Linked DNA regions of Homo sapiens: region 2 is linked to region 1. Evidence: promoter capture Hi-C in human tissues and cell types (Jung and others, 2019). All regions are on one chromosome and are shown on one strand. Each heading gives the region's core, a stretch centred on a gene start or on the middle of the fragment in contact. The rest is flanking DNA. Distances are from core to core; before and after follow the strand shown.

Evidence for each region. The method cuts DNA at HindIII sites, captures the fragments that hold promoters and counts their contacts. A contact is called where the count stands out against the background at its distance.
Region 2: a contact is called between the fragment with the promoter of PKN1 here and the fragment with the promoter of CC2D1A in region 1, in 3 of the 25 tissues and cell types used here (dorsolateral prefrontal cortex, lymphoblastoid cells and spleen).

Annotation. Positions count from the first base shown.
Region 1 is chr19:13,902,044-13,909,102 of GRCh38, forward strand. It overlaps CC2D1A (coiled-coil and C2 domain containing 1A), which reads left to right and starts at 4,158. Exons shown (of 29, transcript NM_017721.5): 1 at 4,158-4,458. The coding sequence starts at 4,399. BRME1 (break repair meiotic recombinase recruitment factor 1) reads right to left here and starts at 4,074. Exons shown (of 9, transcript NM_001345843.2): 1 at 3,672-4,074; 2 at 2,819-2,870. The coding sequence starts at 2,849. RefSeq lists a silencer at 4,473-4,532. The HindIII fragment of the contact is 13,583 bases long and covers 1-6,803 here.
Region 2 is chr19:14,430,290-14,437,011 of GRCh38, forward strand. PKN1 (protein kinase N1) reads left to right here and starts at 3,017. Exons shown (of 22, transcript NM_002741.5): 1 at 3,017-3,253. The coding sequence starts at 3,233. RefSeq lists enhancers at 1,757-2,036, 2,911-3,484, 3,485-4,057, 4,808-5,102 and silencers at 2,767-3,106, 3,277-3,346, 3,637-3,746. The HindIII fragment of the contact is 61,187 bases long and covers 1-6,722 here.

The DNA of each region.
Region 1 (7,059 bases), core at 2,908-5,407:
AAAAAGAAAAAAAAAAAAGCTGGGTATGGTGGCTCACTCCAGTAATCCCAGCACTTTGGCTGAGGCGGGCAGATCATGTGAGGCCAGGAGTTCAAGATCAGCCTGGGCAACATGGTGAAACCCCATCTCTACTACAAATACAAAAATTATCTGAGCGTGGTGGCAGACACCTGTAATCCCAGCTACTCAGGAGGCTGATGCAAGAGAATCGCTTGAAACCAGGAGGCGGAGGCTGCAGTGAGTCAAGATCGTGCCACTGCACTCCAGTCTGGGCAACAGAGTGAGACATCATCTTAAAAAAAAGTCTGAGCTGGGCGCGCTGGCTCATGCCTGTAATCCCAGCACTTTGGGAGGCCGAGATGGGCGGATCACCTGAGGTTGGGAGTTCGAGACCAGCCTGACCAACATGGAGAAACCCCATCTCTACTAAAAATACAAAAAAATTAGCTGGGCATGGTGGCATATGCCTGTAATCTCAGTTACTTGGGAGGCTGAGGCAGGAGAATTGCTTGAATCTAGGAGGCAGAGGTTGCGGTGAGCCGAGATCGCGCCAGCCTGGGCAACAAGATCAAGACTCTGTCTCAAAAACAAAAACAAAAAAGTCTGGGCTGGGCGCGGTGGCCTACTCCTGTATCCCCAGCACTTTGGGACACCAAGACGGGCAGATCACCTGAGGTTGGGAGTTCAAGACCAGCCTGACCAAACCCTGACTCTACTAAAAAAATACAAAAATTAGCTCAGCATGGTGGTGGGTGCCTGTAATCCCAGCTACTTGGGAGGCTGAGGCAGGAGAATCGCCTGAACTTGGGAGGTGGAGGTTGCAGTAAGCCGAGATCGCGCCACTGCACTCCAGCCTGGGCAACAAGAGCGAAACTCCGTCTCAAAAAAAAAAAAAAAAGTCTAGAAGCAGTGTACCGAGGTTAGAGTCCTGTCCTGTTTTTCATGCTGTTCTACAGTTGATCACTGTCCTATGGCTATGCTAGATGTCAACATTAGGGAAAGCTTGGAGAAGGGTAGCTAGAACTCTCTGAATTATTTTTGCAACTTTTCTTTAAGTCCCAGATTACTTCAAAATAAAAGTTTTCTTAAAAGTCTGGAAGAAGAATTGTTAACAGCAGTGTACATTTGTGTACTACCTTAGGTCAGTTCTGGGTGCTTTACAGATACTAATCCACATGTGAGCTCTAAGGGCAGGATTCTTCACCTTGGAGGACATTTGGGGCTGGATCATTCTCTGTGGCTGGGGGGCATCCTATGCATGGTAGGATATTTGAGCAGCATCCCTGGCCTCCACCCACTAGATGTCAGTATAATTTCCCCAGTTATGAAAACCAAAAAAAGTCTCTAGGCCGGGCACGGTGGCTCCCACCTGTAATCCCAGCACTTTGGGAGGCTGAGGCAGGCAGATCACCTGAGGTCAGGAGTTTGAGACCAGCCTGGCCAACATTGTGAAACCCTATCCCTACTAAAAATACAAAAATTAGGCGGGCGTGGTGGTGCACATCTGTAGTCCCAGCTACTTAGGAGGCTGAGGCTGCAGAATCGCTTGAACCCAGGAGGTGGAGGCTGCAGTGAGCCAAGATCTTGCTACTGCACTCCAGCCTGGACGACAGAGTCAGACTTGGTCTCCAAAAAAAAAAAAAATAAAGTCTCCAAACATTGCCAGCTGTCTCTGGAGGTCAAAATCCCTTCCTCTCACCTAGTTGAGAAACACTGCTCTAAAGGAAAGGGTAGTGGCTTTTATTATCCCCAATTTACAAAAGGGGAAACTGTGGCACAGAGGAAATCATCCACCACCACACACTGAGCAGAACTGGGATGAACCCAGGTTTTGGGCCCCAGAGTAAAACACTCAGCCACATACCGAGTGGCCTTGTAGTACATCAAGCATTATTCCAGGGGTCATCTCTGGGACTGGTTCCGCAGGGAGGCTGTCCCGCTGCCCTGAAGCCCGGGGAGGCCTCCTCTAAGCTGTGGGACCCCACCAGAGGCTTGCAGAAGCTCCAGAAAACTTTCACTTTTACTTTTCCTGTATGCCCTCTCCGTTATTTCTATTTTTCTTTCTTTCTTTTTTTTTTTGAGACAGGGCCTCAATCTATCAGTCAGGATGGAGTGCAGTGGTACGATCTGGATTCACTGCAACCTCCACCTCCCAGTTCAAGCAATCTTCCTGCCTCAACCTCCTGAGTAGCTGGGACTACAGGTGCCTGCCACCACGCCCAGCTAATTTCCTTACTTTACATTGTAGAGACAGGATCTCGCTATGTTGCCCAGGCTGGTCTTGAACTCCTGGACTCAAGCGATCCGCCCACCTCGGCCTCCCAAAGTGCTAGGATTACAGGCGTGAGCCACCACACCGGCCTTCTATTTTTCTTACCAGCATGAATTAAATCCTTTTTGTCTTTTTCTTTTTTTTGAGACAGAGTCTTGCTCTGTTGCCCAGGCTAGAGTGCAGTGGCACCATCTTGGCTCACTGCAACATCGGACTCCCAGGTTCAAACGATTCTCCTGCCTCAGTCTCCCGAGTAGGTGGGACTACAGGCATGTGCCACAACACCTGGCTAATTTTTGTATTTTTAGTAGAGACGGGGTTTCACCATGTTGGTCAGGCTGGTCTTGAACTCCTGACCTTGTGATCTGCCCGCCTCGGCCTCCCAAAGTGCTGAGATTACAGGTGTGAGCCACCGCACCCGGCCAATCCTTGCTTCCTTTTAAGGAGGTTAAGGCAGTCGTGTTAGCCAGATCTGCAATAAACAAGCCCACATTCTTCCCACAAGCAGAAGCAGAAATCAACAAGTGTCCATTTGAATGAACGTACCTGAGGTCCGCAGCTTCTTCCTCTTAGTCATTTTATCTTCCCCTTGAGAAATCTGAAAACAAGCAAAATCTCTCATCATTATAAGCAGTCTCTGTCTCTGTTTATATCCAGTGGCTTTGGCTGAGAGCAGAGGTTACCCCTACCTCCACCTCAGCCCATTTGGCTGCCCCAGGGGTCAGATGGCTCCCACTGGGACACAGGATGGGACACAGAGTCACAGCCACTTTGGGCCATGGCCAGGTAGGAATTCAAACCTCCTCCAAACTGAAGATCTTATGCCCAGGACCTGAAAGACAAATGGGCCCTGGGGGGTCCTTATAGATAGCCCCGGGGACCCAGACTCTGGTCCCTAGGATGAAACAGCCTGTGTGAAGCCCCTCCCTCCAGACTGGGGTATCTGGGGGCCCTTCCAAGGACACTTGAGGACTCTCCAGGGGCCTCTGGAGACCAGCCTGGCCAATATGGTGAAACCCCCTCTCTATTAAAAACACAAAAATTAGCCTGGGCATCGTGACGCACACCTGTAATCCCAGCTACTTGGGAGGCTGAGACAGTAGAATTCCTTGAACCCATGAGGCAGAGGTTGCAGTGAGCCGAGATCGCTCTACTGCACTCCAGCCTGGGCGACAGAGCGAGACTCCGTCTCAAAAAAAAAAAAAAAAATTAGTCAGGTGCGGTGGCACACACCCGTAATCCCAGCTACTCAGGAGGCTGTGGTACAAGGCCAGGAGGCAGAGGTTGCAATGAGCCAAGATCGTGCCACTTTAAAGGGGACAGCTGGGTCCTTGGAGGGGAAAGAGCTGCCATAGGCCGGTTTCTCCCAGCCTTGGGGGCGAGGCAAACCAGAACGGACCTGGGCCACAGAAGTCGTTGAGGACCCTCTGTCCTTATCAGAAACGAGCTCTGCCTGGATCAGTTGGGAATAAGTCGCTTGAATTATCCGCGTTACTCTTTTTGGAAAAAATAAATGGCCAAATTGGCCCTCACAGAACGCTGGAGGCCTCGAGTCCGGAGGTGAAAGATGGAAAGGCCTGAGGGTGGGCGCTGTAGACCCCGCTCCCGGTGACAAGCCCCACACTGACACTACGCCGACCACCGAGAAGTGAGGACTCCACAGGCCGAGAGCCCACGTGAAGCCGGAGCCCGTCGGTGACTGACAGACGCTCTGAACCCCACAGATGTCGCCGCCCCTCACACCTGCGCGCGCTCTGCCTCTTTCCCGCGCCCCGCGAGGTCCCGCCCCGCGCATGAGCGACGCAAACACCGCCCTCGCAGCCCGCGACAGTCAGCACCGCCCCAGCCAGGCGCCTGCGCGCCCACGCACTACCTGCCGGGAGTTGTAGTTTCGGCTCGGCAGACCCGGCGAGCCCAGTGGCCGCGCTCCGGTGCGGCGGCGCCCGAGGCCCGAGGCGGAAGTGGGACGGCCAAGCAGGGAAGCGAGGGCTCGGGATCGACGGCCGCGGGGCGCCGACGAGGAGTGCAGGACTCAGGAAGGGCGAGTGCGCGGCGACAGAGCCCGGGGAAGGAGGCAGGGCAAGGCCGGGCTTGGGGGCAGGTGGTCCGGGCATCCAGCCTTGAAGATGCACAAGAGGAAAGGACCCCCGGGACCCCCGGGCAGAGGCGCCGCGGCCGCCCGCCAGGTGAGTTTGCGCCCCACGGCCCGACCTGGGGATCCCTCCCCACCCCCGTCACTCGCTCAGGGAAGGGCCCCACCCCCCAGGGAAGCCCGATCTCCGCCCCACAGGTAAGCCCCGGTCCCCGCCTCCCCCCAGGTGAGGCTCCAACACCACCCAAGTGTGGCCTACTGGCCTTGGCTCCCCAGCTCCTGGGGCCCTGCCCCGGGTTCGGGGCCACCTGTTGCCACAGCTGCTCCAGTCGAGGAGGGGCAGTCCTCGGACTTGACACATCAAACCCTTGCATCAGTCGGGCCATGTCAGACTCTTTTTATTCCATTGTACAGATGAGGACTTTGAGACTCAGAGACGTGAAGACATCTGCCCAAGGTCATAGGGATTAACAGCTTGGCCAGGGCTAAGCACAAATCCAGGGCTGCAGCCATAAGCTTATGGCACTGTGGCTGGACCCCTTCTCACTCTCCCGACTTCTTTGCCCCAGGCACCAGATAGTTTGATTTTTCTCAGTTTTGATGGAAGGAGCCCAGGACATAGCTTGGTGTTCAGATATTAGAGTCTGGCTGACCTGAAGTTCCCTCCTGGCCTCTGTACATCGGACACTTGACTTTACAGCTCTGAGCCTCAGCTTTCTCATCTGTAAAATGGAGATCTCTATAATCCCAGCACTTCAGGAGATGGAGGCGGAGGCAGAGGTGGGAGAGTCATTTGAGGCCAGAGTTTGAGACCAGCCTGGGCAAAAGCAAGACCCCCGTCTCGACAAAAAAAGACTAACTGGGCATGGTGGCATGTGCCTGTAGTACTACTACTTGGGAGGCTAAGAAGGGAGGATTGCTTGAGCCCAGGAGTTCAAGACCGCAGTGAGCTATGATTGCGCTACTTCTGCTCCAGCCTGGGTGACAGAACAAGACTCTTTCTCTAAAATAAAGATAAAAAATTAAAAATGGAAGTCCGGGGTGGTGTCTCACACCTGTAATCCCAGCACTTTGGGAGGCCATGGCGAAACCCCATCTCTACTAAAAATACAAAAATTAGCTGGGCATGGTGGCGGGCACCTGTAATCCCAGCTACTCGGGAGGCTGAGGTGGGAGAATCGCTTGAACCGAGAGGCGGAGGTTGCAGTGAGCTGAGATCGCGCCACTGCATTCCAGACTGGGTGACAGAGCAAGGCTCCTTCTCAAAATAAATAAATAAATTCCTTCTGAAAATAAATAAATAAATAAAAAATTAAAAATGGAGACCTCCAAGAGACCCTACATTACAGGACAGTTGTAGAGAGTCATTGAGATAGTTTATGGAAAGTGCTAGAACATAGCACTCAATAAATGTTACTATTATCATTATTACTAGTTGGTGGAACCATACATAATTGCCAATATTTGGCCATTTTTTACCTACAGGAAAGGCAATTTCATATGGTTAAACACGATGTTATCACATCATGATTGGTCATTAGCCAAGATAGGAAGACGGGTCTGCATGGCAAACCTGCATTGTGGTTAGGGGTTCTTTTTTTGTTTGTTTGTTTTTGAGACAGAGTCTTGCTCTCTCGCCCCAGGCTGGAGTGCAGTGGCGCAATCTCGGCCCACTGCAACCTCCGCTTCCCGGGTTCAAGCGATTCTCCTGCCTCAGCCTCCCGAGTAGCTGGGATTACAGGCATGCGCCACCATGCCTGGTTAATTTTGTATTTTTTAGTAGAGACGGGGTTTCTCCCTGTTGGTCAGGCTGGTCTGTCTCGAACTCCCCATCTCAGGTGACCCGCCTGCCTCGGCCTCCCAAAGTGCTGGGGTTACAGGCGTGAGCCACCGTGCCCGGCCTAATTTTTGTATTTTTAGTAGTGATGGGATTTCACCATGTTGGCCAGGCTAGTCTCGAACTGCTGACCTCAGGTGATCCCCCCACCTTGGTCTCCCAAAGTGCTGGGATTACAAGCGTGAGCCACTGCACCTGGCCCTGTCGTCAGGGCTTCTAATTGCTCTTCTTTTTTTTTTGGAGACAGAGTCTTGCTCTGTTGCCCAGGCTGGAGTTTGGTGGCGCAATCTCAGCTCACTGCAACCTCCACCTCCCAGGTTCAAGCAATTCTCCTGCCTCAGCCTCCCGAGTAGCTGGGATTGCAGACACCGCCAGCACTCCCAGCTAATTTTTGTATTTTTAGTAGAGACGGGGTTTCACCATGTTGGCTAGGCTGGTCTCGAACTCCTGGATTACAGGCGTGAGCCACCGCATGCAGCCATCATGCTCTTGAAGCCCAACCTTCCCACACAGCCCCTCTGCTGAGGATGCTGGAAAGAAAAGCCCAAGTGTACAGAGTAGCTTTGCTTTGGGCAAAGTGTGGAGCCTGCTTCCTTCCCTCCTTCCCTCCCTCCCTCGCTTCCTTCTTTTTTTCCTTCCTTCCCTCCTTCCTCCCTCCCTCTCTCCCTCCCCGGCTCCATCTCTCTTTCTTTCTTTCCTTTCAACAGGGCTTTACTCTGTTGCCCAGGCGGAGTGCCGTAGCACAGTCATGGCTCACTGCAGCCTTGATCTCCCCAGGCTCAAGTGATCCTCCTGCCTCAGCCTCCCGAGTAGCTGGGACCACAGGCACACAGCACAACTCCCAGCTAATTTTAAAAA
Region 2 (6,722 bases), core at 1,767-4,266, 530 kb after region 1:
TCTGGGCCTCCCAAAGTGCTGGGGTGACAGGCGTGAGCCACCATGCCTGGCCATGAGTTCTTTTCTTTTCTCTTTTCTTTTTCTCCCTTCCCCTCCCTCCCTTCCTTCCTCTCTCTCTCTCTCTCTCTCTCTCTCTCTCTTTCTTTCTTTCTGACAGTCTTGCTCTATCACCCAGGGGGGTGTGCAGGGGTGCGATCTTGGCTCACTGCAACCTCCGCCTCCCAGGTTCAAACCATTCTCCTGCCTCAGTCTCTCAAGTAGCTGAATATACAGATGCCCGCCAGCACACCTGGCTAATTTTTTAATTTTTAGTAGAGATGGGGTTTCACCATGTTGGCCAGGCTGGTCTCGAATTCCTGGCCTCAAGTGATTCACCCCCCTTGACCTCCTAAATTGCTGGGATTACAGGTGGGAGCCACTGCGCCCAGCCACAGAGTTCTTTCTTTTATTCAATCAACAAGCATTTGAGAAACAGTTAGAAGGCTCATGTGGCTGGAAGGAGTGAGCAAGGGGGAGAGATGGGAGGAAGTAAGAACTGATGGTGCAGAGCTTCGTGGGCTGTGGGGAGGACCTGAGTTTTTTCCCTGAGTGAGCTGGGAGCCATGGAGGGTTCTAGACAGAGGAGGGGCATACCCCATCTCATGTGTTCACTGCTCCCTTGGGCTGTTGTGGGAACAGACTGTGGGGGCGAGGGCAAAACCAGGAGACCAGGAGAGAGGTGACTACTGGTTAAGGTGAGTGATGGTAGGGACTGGATGCGACAAAGTGGAAAGGTGAAATGTGGGTGAATTCTGGGCTTGTGTGTGTGTTGTTGTTGTTTTCTTTCTCTTTTTTTTTTTTTTTTTGAGAGGGAGTCTCGCTCTGTCGCCCAGGCTGGAGTGCAGTGGCGCGATCTCGGCACACTGCAAGCTCCGCCTCCTGGGTTCATGCCATTCTCCTGCCTCAGCCTCCCTAGTAGCTGGGACTACAGGCGCCCGCCGCTTTCACCATGTTAGCCAGGATGGTCTCAATCTCCTGACCTCGTGATCCGCCTGCCTCTGCTTCCCAAAGTGCTGGGATTACAGGCGTGAGCCACCACACCTGGCCCCCTCTTTTTTCTTTTTTTAGATGGAATCTTGCTCTGTCGCTCAGGCTGGAGTGCAATGGCACGATCTCGGCTCACTGCAATCTCCGCCTCTTGGGTTCAAGCTATTCTCCTGCCTCAGCCACCCGAGTAGCTGGGATTACAGGCATGCGCCACCACGTTCAGCTAATTTTATATTTTTTAGCAGAGATGGGTTTCACCATATTGGCTAGGCTGGTCTCGAACTCCTGACCTCCAGTGATCCATCCACCACCCACCTTGGCTTCCTAAAGGGCTGGGATTACAGGGGTGAGCCACTGCACCCAGCCGTTTTTTTTTTTCTTTCTTTTTTTAGACAGGGTCTCGCTCTGTCACCCAGGCTGGAGTGCAGGGGCATCATGATTTCTCCCCACAGTGATGCATTCTCGGCCTCTTGAGCTCAAGCGATCCTCCCGCCTCAGCCTCCTGGTAGCTGGGACTACAGGCGTGCGCCACCATGCCCGGCTGGATGGGTTCTGGATCAGCATAATTCTCCTCCTTCTCTCTTTCTGTTGTTAGTATCTCCCAAAGAGTTGCTCAGAGGAAAAAATAAGAGAGAAAACATCGCGCCCTGGTTTCTGGGACGACTGAAACCACGCAGAGCCACGGGTAACCAAGGTACCCGCAGCCCACGGCGCTTCCTCGGGTCCCAAAGGGCGCCAATGTGCAGGCACCGCCGCCAGGGAGCGCTCCCTGCCGGAGCCCCGGAGACCAAGGTTTGGCTCCCTCGCCTGGTTTCCGAAGGAGTGAGGGTCCGACGGCGGCCACGAACAAAGCTGCACGCTCTGCAGACCCCGGAGATCCCCTAGAAATTCCGCAGAGGCCTCCACTCTCCGCTTGGGCACGAGTCTGCATTTATGGAGCGCCATCTGCATGCAGCAGCCCCGAAAAAGAAGGCGATGCCCATTTTATAGCGGGGAAAACTGAGACTCAGAGGCCACAGGGGTCCCCAGGATGAACAGCAAGTTGGGATTCAAACCTCTTTTAATAACAATAACGATAATAGAGGCTGGGCGCGGTGGCTCAGGCCTGTGTAATCTCAGCACTTTAGGAGACCGAGGCGGGCGGATCACCTGAGATCAGGAGTTCGAGGCCAGCCTGGCCAATATGATGAAACCCCGTCTCTACTAAAAATACAAAAATTAGCCGGGTATGGTGGTGGGCACCTGTAATCCCAGCTACTCAGGAGGCTGAGGCAGAAGAATCACTTGAATCCGGGAGGCGGAGGTTGCAGTGAGCCGAGATCGCGCCACTGCACTCCAGCATGGGCAACAGAGCGAAACTCCGTCCAAAAATAGCAAAACAACAAACAAACAATTACGATAACATTAAAAGTGACAGCAGCTAACACTTATGGAGCGTCTAGTGTGTTCTCAGCTCTTGGCCTGCACTGTCTTATTGAATTTTACCAACACCGAGGAGGTGAGCGCATCATTCCCATTTCACAGATGAGGTGCCTGGAAGGGTTTGTCTCCCTCAAGGCGTAAAGCGCTAGGATTTGAATGCAGATCCGCCCAGAGCTTGTCTCCAGGTAACGGGGAAACTTCCATGCCCTTGAATAGGGGACCACAGATGCAGGCGTCCCGAGCTTGCAAATGCACCGGGGTAGGGTGGGGTGGGGGGTTATTCTGTTTGTTTTTTTCAGGGGTCCCGGGAGGCCCAAAGGCCTCCGCCGCTCTCGGCTTGAACGCGTGGAACCGTTCTCCTCGGGTTCCCGCGCGCTCCAATGGGGGACCCCTCGGCAGCGTGCGGTCGTCTCGGGACCCGGAAAGAGGAAAGGTGGGGAGCCGATGGGGATGCTCCGGGCTCGGGAGACCGAGGGGGCGGACGGGCGGGACCCCGCAGCCCCGGGGGCCTCTGGGAACCCGTCCCCCCTCGGCCCCGCCCCCTCCCCGGGCGCCGACCTCCGGGGTCACGTGACCAGGCCCGGCGGCCGCTGGGGCCGGAGGGCGCGGCGCGGGGACGCGGCGGCCTGGCCAGGCGAGGCGGGAGCCGAGCAGGCCGGAGCGGGCCGCGCGCCGGGGAGGGTCGCGCCGCGCCCGCCCCCTCCCCGCCACGCCCGGGGCGCACGCGCGCTCCTCTGGCCGCCCCTCCCTCCGCGCGGGGACCCCTGGCGGGCGGCAGGAGGACATGGCCAGCGACGCCGTGCAGGTAGGCGCACCTGCGTCTGGAGTCCCGGGGCGACCGGACGGCGCCGGCGGACCCCGCCCGCGCGCTGCCGGGGGAGCCCCCCCAGCCCCCGGAACGGGACTCGGGTGACGATGGCAAGGGCGGGGGCCTCCGGAGCGCCCGGCGCCCCCTCCCTGGGCCGGGACTGTGGAGCCAGCGAGGCCCCCTTCTCGGCAGGTGGCGATGTGGACTGGGCTGGTTTGGGGGCGATCCCGGAGGCAACCCCTGCTACACCCTCAAACTCGGCCTCTCCTGGAGAACTAGAAGGGGCGCGGCGGAGGCTCTACTTCGGGTGTCTGTGGCTGGCTGGGCGTCCCAGTGCCTCTCGTCCGCCCCCAAACTCATCCCCCTCCCCAGGGTTGGGTACCCGGCAGGTGCCGCTCCACCTGGGGCACGTGCCTGGCGCAGTGCCCTGGGAGGGGAGGAGGCTGCTGGGCCCGGCCCGTGCCCTTCCCCCGCATAACAAAGCTCCAGCCACCCCCGCCTCTAGACAGCTTTATGATGTTCCAGACGCCACCCAGATTGGCACCTGTTGGCGGAAGTACCCGAGTCACTGCATTAGGTCGGGGGAATGGGGACCCCCACTCCCACCCTTGGGCTGTCAGGTGGAACCTTCTCCTGGGTGGGGAGTGTCTCAGTCAACAGGCCAGGGATGCTCCCATATATAGAATCCTACTTTTTTGCATGGTGGCTGGGCATGGCTGGGTCACCCCCACCCTGCTAACACACACACGTGACTGGCACCAGCCTCCCGCCCAGCCAGATTCCCCTTGTGCCACCTGGTGGGGATCACTGACCTGGACTCATCTTCCCCGTCTGTGACAAGCACGGCCAGGGTGACTGCCAACCTTCTTTGGTTCAAGTGACCCAAATCTGAGAAATGTCTGTGCCTCAGTGTCCCCATTAGCACCTCACCATCCAGTTCATTGTCCTGTGGTTGTTGTGTAACTGGGTTCTCGTCTCCTTCTGCACCTGCCCCCGGCCCCTTTGTGTCTCCCCGGTAACCCCCGGTCCCTCCCGCCTTCCCAGTCCTGCTGATGGCCTGCCGGCCTTGCCGAGGAGCTGGGCGTATCTGGTGTTGCCGATCACACAAGGTCAGACCTCAAGGCCGGGATGGGCCGGGGTCCCTGCCTCTACCCCCGGCCCAGGGAGGGCTGTGTAGGAATCCCCGGGTGCATGCATGCGCTTGGCGCATCCCACACATGACCCAGACAGGCTGTGATTCCTGCAACGAGGCTGGACCCACGCCCTGGTCCCCCCTTCCCATCTCCTCCCCAGTCTCTTCCCCGCTCCTGGTCATCCCTCTCTCATGGTTGCTTGGGCCTGCTGCCCTGTCCCTCTGTCTGTCCCAACGTGTGCCTGTCTGTTCTGTGTCCTGCAAACGGATGTCCTGTCCAGATTCCGGAAACGCCCAAGGCATTGAAATCTCCGGATGTGGGAGTCTAGGTCCCTGGCTGCTCTGGCAAGATGGGGATTATGGGAGGCAGGTCCTCTGGGTCTGAGGTCTCCGCTCCATGGTGGGCAGCGGAGGAGCAGGGGTTCTCCATAGGACAGGCCAGGCCAGGGCCCTGAGTCCTGGGTTTGCCTTGCTGGCCCTCAGGTGACCCCTGTGCCTTGGGTAGAAGTGAGTCACTCAGGGGAGGAGAACCCAGGAGCCCAGCCTCCCTCCCTCTGTGCATTACAGACCTCAGCTGCTGGAGGTGGGGCTGAGGGAGGCCACCTCTCCTCTCTGCCTGGACTTCCCCAGTTGAGCTGGCCCCGCTCTTGGCTGTGTCCTCCCTCTGCCTGCTGGGGATGGGGTGGGGCCTTCTGAGCGAGGGTGGTATTTGGTGAGCCTGGGCTTAAATTCCAGCGCTGACACTTCCTCGCTGTGTGTCCTGGGCCCAGTGCCTTCGCCTCTCTGAGCCTCGGTTCTGACCTAGGAAAAATGGGACTAAGAGGGTGTTCATGGGAGAGAGAGAGACCGAGACCTTGCCAGCACTTGGCAGGCAGGGCTGCTGTGAAGTCGTTACTGGTAAGCGTCCTGGTCAGCAGCTCAGGGTGTGAATCTGTGTCCTTATTGATTGATTTACTGATTTATATTTATTTATTTTAGAGGAGAGAGTCTTGCTCTGTCACCCAGGCTGGAGTACAGTGGTGCGATCCTATGTCACCGCAGCCTCGATTTCCAATTTCCGGGGCTCAAGTGATCTTCCTGCCTCAGCCTCCCAAGTAGCTGGGACAAAAGGCACAGACCAACATGCCTGGCTAATTTCCTTTTACTTTTGTAGAGACAGGGTCTCGCTCTGTTACCCAGGCTGGAATGCAGTGACGAGATTCTTGTTCACTGCAGCCTCAAACACCTGATCTACAGGACTACAGGCATGCACCACCACACCTGGCTAATTTTTTTTTCTTTATTTTTTTAAATTGAGACTGGGGTCTCACTCTGTCACCCAGGCTGGAGTGCAGCGGCATGATCTCTGCCTCCTAGACTCAAGCCGTTCTCCCACCCCAGCCTCCTGAGTAGCTGGGACTACAGGTGCACACCACCACGCCTGGCTAATTTTTGTATTTTTAGTAGAGTCAGGGTTTCGCCATGTTGCCCAGGCTGGTCTTGAAATCTTGAGCTCAAAGTAACCTGCCCGCCTAGGCCTCCCAAAGTGCTGGGATTACAGGTGTGAGCCACTGCCCCCAGCCTTTCTTTTTTTCTTTTCCTTTTTTTTTTGTGATGGAGTCTCGCTCTGTCGCCTAGGCTAGAGTGCAGTGGCTTGATCTCGGCTTACTGCAAATTCTGCCTCCTGGGTTCACGCCATTCTCCTGCCTCAGCCTCCCAAGTAGCTGGGACTACAAACGCCCGCCACCATGCCCGGCTGATTTTTTTGTGTTTTTAGTAGAGACAGGGTTTCACCTTGTTAGCCAGGATGGTCTAGATCTCCTGACCTCGTGATCTGCCTGCCTCGGCCTCCCAAAGTGGTGGGATTATAGGCATGAGCCACCGCGCCTGGCCTCTTTTTTTCTTTTTTGAGACAAAGCCTGGCTCTGTTGGCCAGGCTGGAGTGTGATGGTGTGATCTCGGCTCACTGGAACCTCTGCCTCCTGGGCTCAAGCCAGCTTCCCACCTCAGGCTCCCAAGTAGTTGAGACTGCAGGCACATGCCATCACACCTGGCTAATTCTTACATTTTTTGTAGAGATGGGGTCTCACCGTTATTGCCCAGGCTGGTCTCGAACTCCTGAGCTCAAGCAGTCCTCCGGCCTTGGCCTCCTAAAGTGCTAGGATCACAGGCAGAGAGAGCCACCACACCTGGCCAATACTTTTTTATTTTTTGTAGAGATTTTTGTAGGTCTTGCTGTGTTGCCCAGACTTATCTCCAATTCCTGACCTCAAGCACTGCTCCTGCCTCAGCCTCCCAAAGCGCTGGGATTACAGACGTGAACCACCACACCTGGCCAAATCTATGACCCTTAAC